2 separate regions of the Homo sapiens genome follow, and region 1 is linked to region 2. The links are contacts of gene promoters, found by promoter capture Hi-C in blood cells and fetal thymus (Javierre and others, 2016). All regions are on one chromosome and are shown on one strand. The core of a region is centred on a gene start or on the middle of the fragment in contact, and the rest is flanking DNA. Distances in the headings are between cores, read along the strand shown.

Evidence for each region. The method cuts DNA at HindIII sites, captures the fragments that hold promoters and counts their contacts. A CHiCAGO score of 5 or more calls a contact.
Region 1: a contact is called between a fragment that was not itself captured here and the fragment with the promoter of MRS2 in region 2, in 1 of 17 cell types (M0 macrophages). The highest score is 7.3, in M0 macrophages.

What each region holds. Positions count from the first base shown.
Region 1 is chr6:24,701,861-24,705,547 of GRCh38, forward strand. ACOT13 (acyl-CoA thioesterase 13) reads left to right here. Exons shown (of 3, transcript NM_018473.4): 3 at 1-3,186. C6orf62 (chromosome 6 open reading frame 62) reads right to left here. Exons shown (of 5, transcript NM_030939.5): 5 at 3,001-3,687. Among named protein-coding and RNA genes, the nearest start is that of C6orf62, 15 kb to the right of the region's middle. The HindIII fragment of the contact is 3,722 bases long and covers 1-3,190 here.
Region 2 is chr6:24,400,905-24,404,812 of GRCh38, forward strand. MRS2 (magnesium transporter MRS2) reads left to right here and starts at 2,032. Exons shown (of 11, transcript NM_020662.4): 1 at 2,032-2,332. The coding sequence starts at 2,143. RefSeq lists enhancers at 1-460, 2,669-3,403 and a silencer at 617-911. The HindIII fragment of the contact is 7,340 bases long and covers 1-3,908 here.

The DNA of each region.
Region 1 (3,687 bases), core at 80-2,579, 300 kb after region 2:
GGTAAAGCAAAGAAACTAGCAGGACCACTCTCAGTTAAGATTAAAACTAAAGTCCAGTGTTAAGCTAAAGGAGAAATAGAAATTAATGGTTCTAATTCTGTTTGGGCTGCTAGGAACAACAGAAATTTTTCATGGTTCTAGAAGCTGGAAAGTCCTGGGTCAAGGCCCAGCAGATCCTGTTAGGTGAGGGCCCGCTTCCTGGCTCATAGATGGTGCCTTCTCACTGTGTGGTGGAAGGGGCAAGTGAGCCCTCTGGGTTCTCGTTTTTGAAATGGAGTCTCGCTCTGTTGCCCAGGCTGGAGTACAGCAGCACGATCTCGGCTCACTGCAATCTCTGCCCCCTGGGTTCAAGTGATTCTCCTGCCTCAGCCTCCCAAGTAGCTGGGACTATAGGCATGTGCCATCACACCTAGCTAATTTTTGTAGTTTTTTGTAGAAACAGGGTTCACCATGTTGGCCAGGCTGGTCTCGAACTCGTGACCTCAGGTGATCCGCCTGCCTTGGCCCCCCAAAGTGCTGGGATTACAGGTGTGAGCCAATGTGCCCAGCCTGGGTTCTCTTTTGTAAGGGCACTTACTCCAATCTTGAGGGTTCTGCCCTCGTGATCTAATAACTTCCCAAAGACCCCCACCTGCTAATATCACCTTGGGGGTTGGGATTTTAACATACAAATTTAGGGGAAACACATGGAGACCACAGCAATGGCCAATCCTTAGCGAATCTTAGGTCCTTCCCAGATCTAAAATGCCAAGCTACACTTGCATTTCCTTTTTTTAAGATTATGAAACTTCAAAATATATGAACTACAGCCCATATTGAAAAATAAAATAGATTGAGCCATATGCCTAAAAAAGACCTCAAGAAAAGTTTGAGGCTAAGCATGTTAGTGTTACAGGAAATGGTCCAATAGAGGGGGAAGAAAAAAAGCATGCTACTAGCCCCTTTTCTTGTACCGAGAATAAAACCATGCAGATCTCAAACCTCCAAGTCTATAGTATTGAAAAGACCAAGTTCACTTCTCAGAAGTCTCCAAGTTCAGTTGACTGTGGCACTCTGAGACAGCTTCTGTCACTCAGGCTGGAGTGATACAATCACAGCTTCCCATAGCCTCAAAATCCCAGGCTCAAGACATTCTTCCACCTCAGTCTCCTGAGTAGCTGGAACTACAGGCGTGTGCCACCACGCCTAATTTTATTTTTGTAGAAACAAGGTCTCACTGTTGCCCAGCCTCGTCTCAAACTCCTAGGCTCAAGCAATCCTCCTGCCTTGGCCCCCCAAGTACTGGACTTACAGGTGTGAACCACTGCACCCAGCTGACTCTTACTTGATTTCTGTCAGGGAATCTTAATGAACATTTCATGACTAAAGACTAAAAAGGATGCAGCTTTAAGTAAATTTAAGTCAAGTTAACAGTTAAAGACAAATCCTTTCCCTACATTAGATCGCCTGCTGATCTGTCCACTGTGAAAGGGCAGAAGACTCCACAGTAGCAATAGCAGCAGTGAGCATACAGGAGTCCCAGATGTTTACTTCTAGTATTTCCCACTAAAAGGAAGCTGGGCTCCTTGGAGAAACAGCTGACTCCAGGGCTTGAGGCTGGGACAGAAAGGTTACAGTATCTTATGCATGAAAGGAGATGCTCAAAATAATAAAGGCATGCAAATTATGATTTGGAGGGAAAAAATATGAGGCCATAGTGTTTAGGTAGATAATAAATGGCAGAGATAGAACACTCTCTTACAACAAATGCTGTAAATGGACAAAGCATTAGATTTGGAAAATCACTATTTTGTAACCATCATAGTTAAAGACTGGTTTGGGTTTTAGTCTGGAAAGAATCGCCAAGGGAGCTCCTGATAAAGGAACAGGGTATTTGCACATTGCTTCCCAGAGATTGCTAGTAGTAAGTACCACACATAGGGCAAAACCAGGACACCTTGACCAGGCGCTCAAAAGTAACATCAATGAAGAGCAGATGGAGAGTATACTTGAGAAGGGCGTTAAGCATGAATAAACAATTCAAATGCAAAATGAGTAACAATTTACAAGAAAAATTGCCCTGTACTCCAAAAAACATAGAGGTCATGGAACACATAAAGGCTAAGGAACTGTTCCACATTAAAGACAACTGAGAACAACTAAATTCAATGATCCTGTACTCTAGAGGGGGGGATCTAAAACAAGCTACCAAGGATACTGGGACAACAAAACGAATATGGATGATAAAGAGTATCAACATTCCCTGAGTTTGGTAATTTTACTCTAGTTATATGAAATATTCTTGTACTTGGAACATATGCCGAAGTACTAAGGAAGGGGTAAGGAAGCACAAAGTGTGCAACAAACTCAAATAGCTCACAGGTATAAGTGTACAGAGAAAATGAAAAAAATGTGGCAAAATAATAAAAATGAGGGTAAAGATTACACAACAGCTTTCATATTACTCTGGTAACTTTTCTAAATTATTCCAAAATAAAAACGTAAACAATGGCTGCCAAAATGCCTAACTTGGTGAACATAAGTGTAATTCAATATGGTAAATTAATTCAACATGGTAAATTAAGAGCATAGGCCTTAAGAGCCAGCCAGCCTGGTTTTAAATCCTCCACTACTTATGATCTGAGCTTGAGCAAGTTACTTAACCTCTGCATCTATTTCCACCAAAGGTTGAGAGGTTAAGACAAGAGCTTAGAAGAGTACCTGGTTATAATAAACATTCAAAATGTTATTTCAAATAGATTCTAATTTTTAAATAAGAGGACACATGAAAGCATTTTGAAATTTAAGAATGGCCCTTTCCCATGAAGCAAGGCATAAGGCCAGGTTGCTAACTGTTGAAAGCTGACAGTATGTTCTTGATTCCTGTTCTTGTTGAAGTTACACACTCAATTGCCAGGTATTTTTCTTCTGAATTTACTATTTAGCCACAGACTATGAAATAATTCTCTAAGGTGACCAGTAACATCAGTGAAATGGAAAGAAAAAGTTAACACTTCAAACTTTGTGTATTCACCTGAATAGTCAGGGAACTTTCACCTATTTTATTTAGGTTTTCTTTTTCTTTTTTTCTTTTTTTTTCAAATTCCAACCAGAAGCTAAATACAATTGGAAACTGGTAAGCACTAGTTTTACTCCAAAGGAGTAGGATCATTCAGATTTACTCCAATAAAAGTATGCAACCCTTAAGCAAAGCTTTTCTTCATTTAAAAGGAGAAAAAAAAAAAAACCTATACAGTAGTCTTTCCTTATGTTCATTGCACAAAATGAGTTCTGCTTTTAGAACTTTGACACTCAATGGTTAATTTTACAATTTAAGATTCCAACTTTATAACCTTTTTTCTACTCCAAAACACCCTTGTAAAGTTTTTCTTTAGGATGGTGTAAAAACCAGCATTTCTGCACAATTCACTGGAATTTTTTTCTTTGTAATAAAAATCTCTTCTCTGTAAAACCAAAAACAAAACAAAACAAAACAAAACAAAACCAAAAGAAAAGTCCTCTACCTATCATGGTTTCTGCAGCTATGCATGTATTTCTGTTTTATAGCTGCTTTATAGCTACTTCAGACTCCAGATCTGCTTTAATGTGTATAACTGCATCCACACGCAGCAGAATACTCTTACAATAGCAACTTGGGGAAAGAGATCTGGAAAAAAAAAATACATGAGTACCAGGAAACAAACATGG
Region 2 (3,908 bases), core at 782-3,281:
ACAGCATCTCAAGGCAGAAGAATTGTTCTTAGTACAGAACAAAATGGAGTCTCTTATGTCTACTTCTTTCTACACAGACACAGTAACAATCTGATCTCTCTTTCTTTTCCCCACATTATCAAGTCAAACATCCTCTCTTCTGTGAAGGCTTCTCTTTGTGCACTGCCCTCCTACTCCATCCCCAGTCCCAGTACCCTGCAGAATAAAATGTTTCTATCTCTGTCTCCTTAGCTTTGTGTCCATACATAGATATTGAAAGGAAGTCTGTGGAACTTGTGTCTGCCTTGTATTACTACTGTGGAAGGGACAATAAATTTATTAACTCATATTTTTAAAATATGCATACATACTGTATTTAACCTAAGACTTTTTTCATATTTTAAAGACTGGAATTGAGATATGTCTTTCAATCTACATGTTTAGAAAGCATAACTTATCAGTTTTTTTTTCTTTCTTGGTGGTACATAAAATAATGGTACCTTAAAATTGATGCTATCTTACATTTTATTAAATATGGAATAGAAATCTTATGTGTCTGTGCTCCTCATTCTTTATAGCAAAAGTTTAATACATGACATCATTCCATATGACAGTTGATTATTTTTGCCACTACTGGGGCTCAAACCATAATACCCCAAAATATGATGTTTTGGCATGCTGAGTCTTTGGGGTTTGTTTGTTTTGAGATGGGAGTCTCACTCTGTCGTACAGGCTGGAATGCAGTACAGGCTGGAATGCAATGGCATGATCTGGGCTCGCTGCAACCTCCACCTCCTGGATTCCAGCAATTCTTATGCCTCAGCCTTACAAGTAGCTGGGATTACAGGCACCTGCAACCACACCCGGCTAATTTTTGTATTTTTAGTAGAGACGGGTTTTGCCATGTTGGCCAGGCTGGTCCTGAACTCCTAACCTCAAGTGGTCCACAACATTGGCCTCCCAAAGTGCTTGGCTCCCAAAGTGCTGGATTACAGGCATGAGGCACCACGCCCGGTGGCATGTTGAGTCTTTGAATTAAAGGAAATTAAAAGGGTCTCAGAAAGAAGCCTAAAAATCAAGGCCTCTCTCTCTCACCTTCCCCCTTCCTTTTGTCTCTCTGATACTCTTACTTTTTCCAAGCACCTGAAGGGGCTCTCTTTTCCTGCACAGCCAGATAAGGAATTTCCTTATCTGACAGAGAAAACTCTTTTCCAAAGAAATGCAATTGTCTTAAAACCCGTTCCTTAGGAATCGCATTAAATAATCAGAAGAGATTAATCACCCAGAGAAGAGACAAAAACTGAAAGTCATAGCCACACTGAGACTTTTCATAGATACTTCTGAGGGTAGCTCCAAGAGATTACCTGGGAAACTTTACCTGTATAATAGGACAATTTTTGTTCAGAGTGAAGTTTCACAGCTTGTCCACAAGCGATTGTTTGTACTTCTGTCCCACTGAATGTCCAAGGAGAATCATTTGCAAACCACTGTCTGGCTTTCGGGCCCATTCATACCTATCTCCCTCTACTCAACAAAGAAGGGTATACAAGCATCTGGACCTTAATTGAGTTATTGAGTAATCACTCTTCTGTGATTTTTCCCTATGCACGTTAAGCAAATTTTGTATGCCTTTTTCTCCTGCTAATCTGTCTACTTAGTTCATTCCAGCAACTTTCAGAGGGCAAAAGTAGGAGCTTTCCCTCTTGCTCCCTACACCACGTTAAATTTAAATATAAATTAAATGATGTGGGAATGGGTAACCTGCTCATTTCCAAACTGCAATTTTCATAGGTATGAAAATTCTCCACAAACTACAAAACCATGACACTCCAAGCGCCCAAGAACCTAGGTTGGACAGCTCACTTAGTGCAGGTAAACGTGCTCCACCCATCTCCCAGCCCGCCTGCCCCCTCACTTAGGTACAGGTGCAGGTACAGGTAGGCAAGCAAACGTCTATTGGCTGTGGACTTAACAGGCTCGCCCACAGGTACCTTCCGAGCATGCGTGGGGAAGTAGCACGCAGGCGCGGCACGCCCCGCGCATGCCTGGTGCACAGAGTCTGCAGGTCGGGCGGTAGCGACAGGTCAGAGCTGCGGCCTGAGCAGCCAGCGTCCGGCATGAAGGTCTGGGGTCTGGCTGCTGCCTGCTTCTTGCTCCAGCACCATGGAATGCCTGCGCAGTTTACCCTGCCTCCTGCCCCGCGCGATGAGACTTCCCCGGCGGACGCTGTGTGCCCTGGCCTTGGACGTGACCTCTGTGGGTCCTCCCGTTGCTGCCTGCGGCCGCCGAGCCAACCTGATTGGAAGGAGCCGAGCGGCGCAGCTTTGCGGGCCCGACCGGCTCCGCGTGGCAGGTACTGCCCTTCCCCGGCAACAGCCTTGGGACGCTGGTCTTGCAGTGACCTTAGACTGCTGCCCCAGCCGTCCGGCGCGGCGCGCCTGTTGCTCCGCGCCCTCCGCAGGCCTCGGCCTCCCGCGTGTCCTGTGAGCTTGCACAGGCCCGCGGGCCGAGCTGCGTCCCACTCGCTCAGAATGCGACCTTGCTATGTGCGCTGTGCCCTGCCGGGGTCCCAGCGGCCAACCCTCTGCCTTCTCCTCCACCGCCCTTGCTGCAGATTATGTAACCATAGGAACAACCTAGGAATCGTTTACAGACCGTGATCACGTTAGTTAACACCCGCTTAAGTGCTCTTGTAAGAGGTTTTTTCTGTGTTGTTTTTGAGACAGGGTCTTACTATGTTGCCCAGGCTGGACTCAAACTCCTTGCCTCGAGCCATCCTAACGCATTAGCCTCGCAAAGCGCTGGGATTACAGGCGTGAGCCACCACACCTGGCCGAGAGGTGTTTTTAAACAAGGATTTCATCTGTTCGGAAGTCATAAGTATAAATTAATACTTCCCTGTTTTCTGTTTCTTCGTTATGGACACATTTATACAGTTGTCCAGTTGCACGGAGATTGGGGACGCACCTAGAAGTGAGGCTAAAGACTGAGTTGTTTCTGAGAACGACTTACTTTCAACTACAGTACTCTATAAGTAAACAGCCAGGGAGATCGGATTGAGAAAAAAAAATCTTATTTGCTGTTTATTTTTTCACCAAATGTTGAAGCATGGTGAAAAGTTAAGATTTTCACAAATGTGAGTGCAAATATTTGAGGAATAAAAGGTATTGAAATGAATGACTTTATTAAGAACATAGCAGTGTCCTCAAATATGTTTTCTCAATTGTGCTCTCAAAAGCCTCCCAAAGTAACTCCTCGTCAGCACCTCATTCTCCACTTATTGGAGAGGCTAAGTTGGGTTACATGCTCTGCACCCTCAATTGATAATGCTTGGGAATCCAGTTTCAGCAAGTTGGAGGAAACTTTTAGGACAAGCATTGACGTTCACAATCTCAATCCCGGTTACACTCTAATTTGTGACATTAAAACATTGAAAGGCATTTGTAATCAGCAAATGCCTTTTACCTTTATTCATCTTACCCTTATAGTGATAATTTGTATTTTGTAAAAGGGAAATGAAACTTCAGATACTAACAAATTACAACAATCATTACGTGTATGTAGTAGAAAAAAGATCAGAAATAGGTTTTTTTTTCTACAGTCTCTGGAATCAGTGTAATTACTTTGGAAGCACAAAACAGTGTCCTCTGTCAGTCATTAAATGTACTTGATTATACTTCACCGCTCACTTCGACTCAGTCTAATCACGTTTTAAATAGACAATTTTAAAATAAAGATTTGTCATTTCAGCTCAGTGGGGGTATTTCATAAGTATTCACTATAAAGGATATCTGTAGAAAAGAAGTAAAATCATAGGTTTCATAATTTATGAGCCAGTCAACTGGAATGCTTGAAAGATCAGGTGGTACTTAGGACCTATGTTTTCTAAAATGTATCTACTACCAAATGTGCATGAAGAGTCTTTTAAA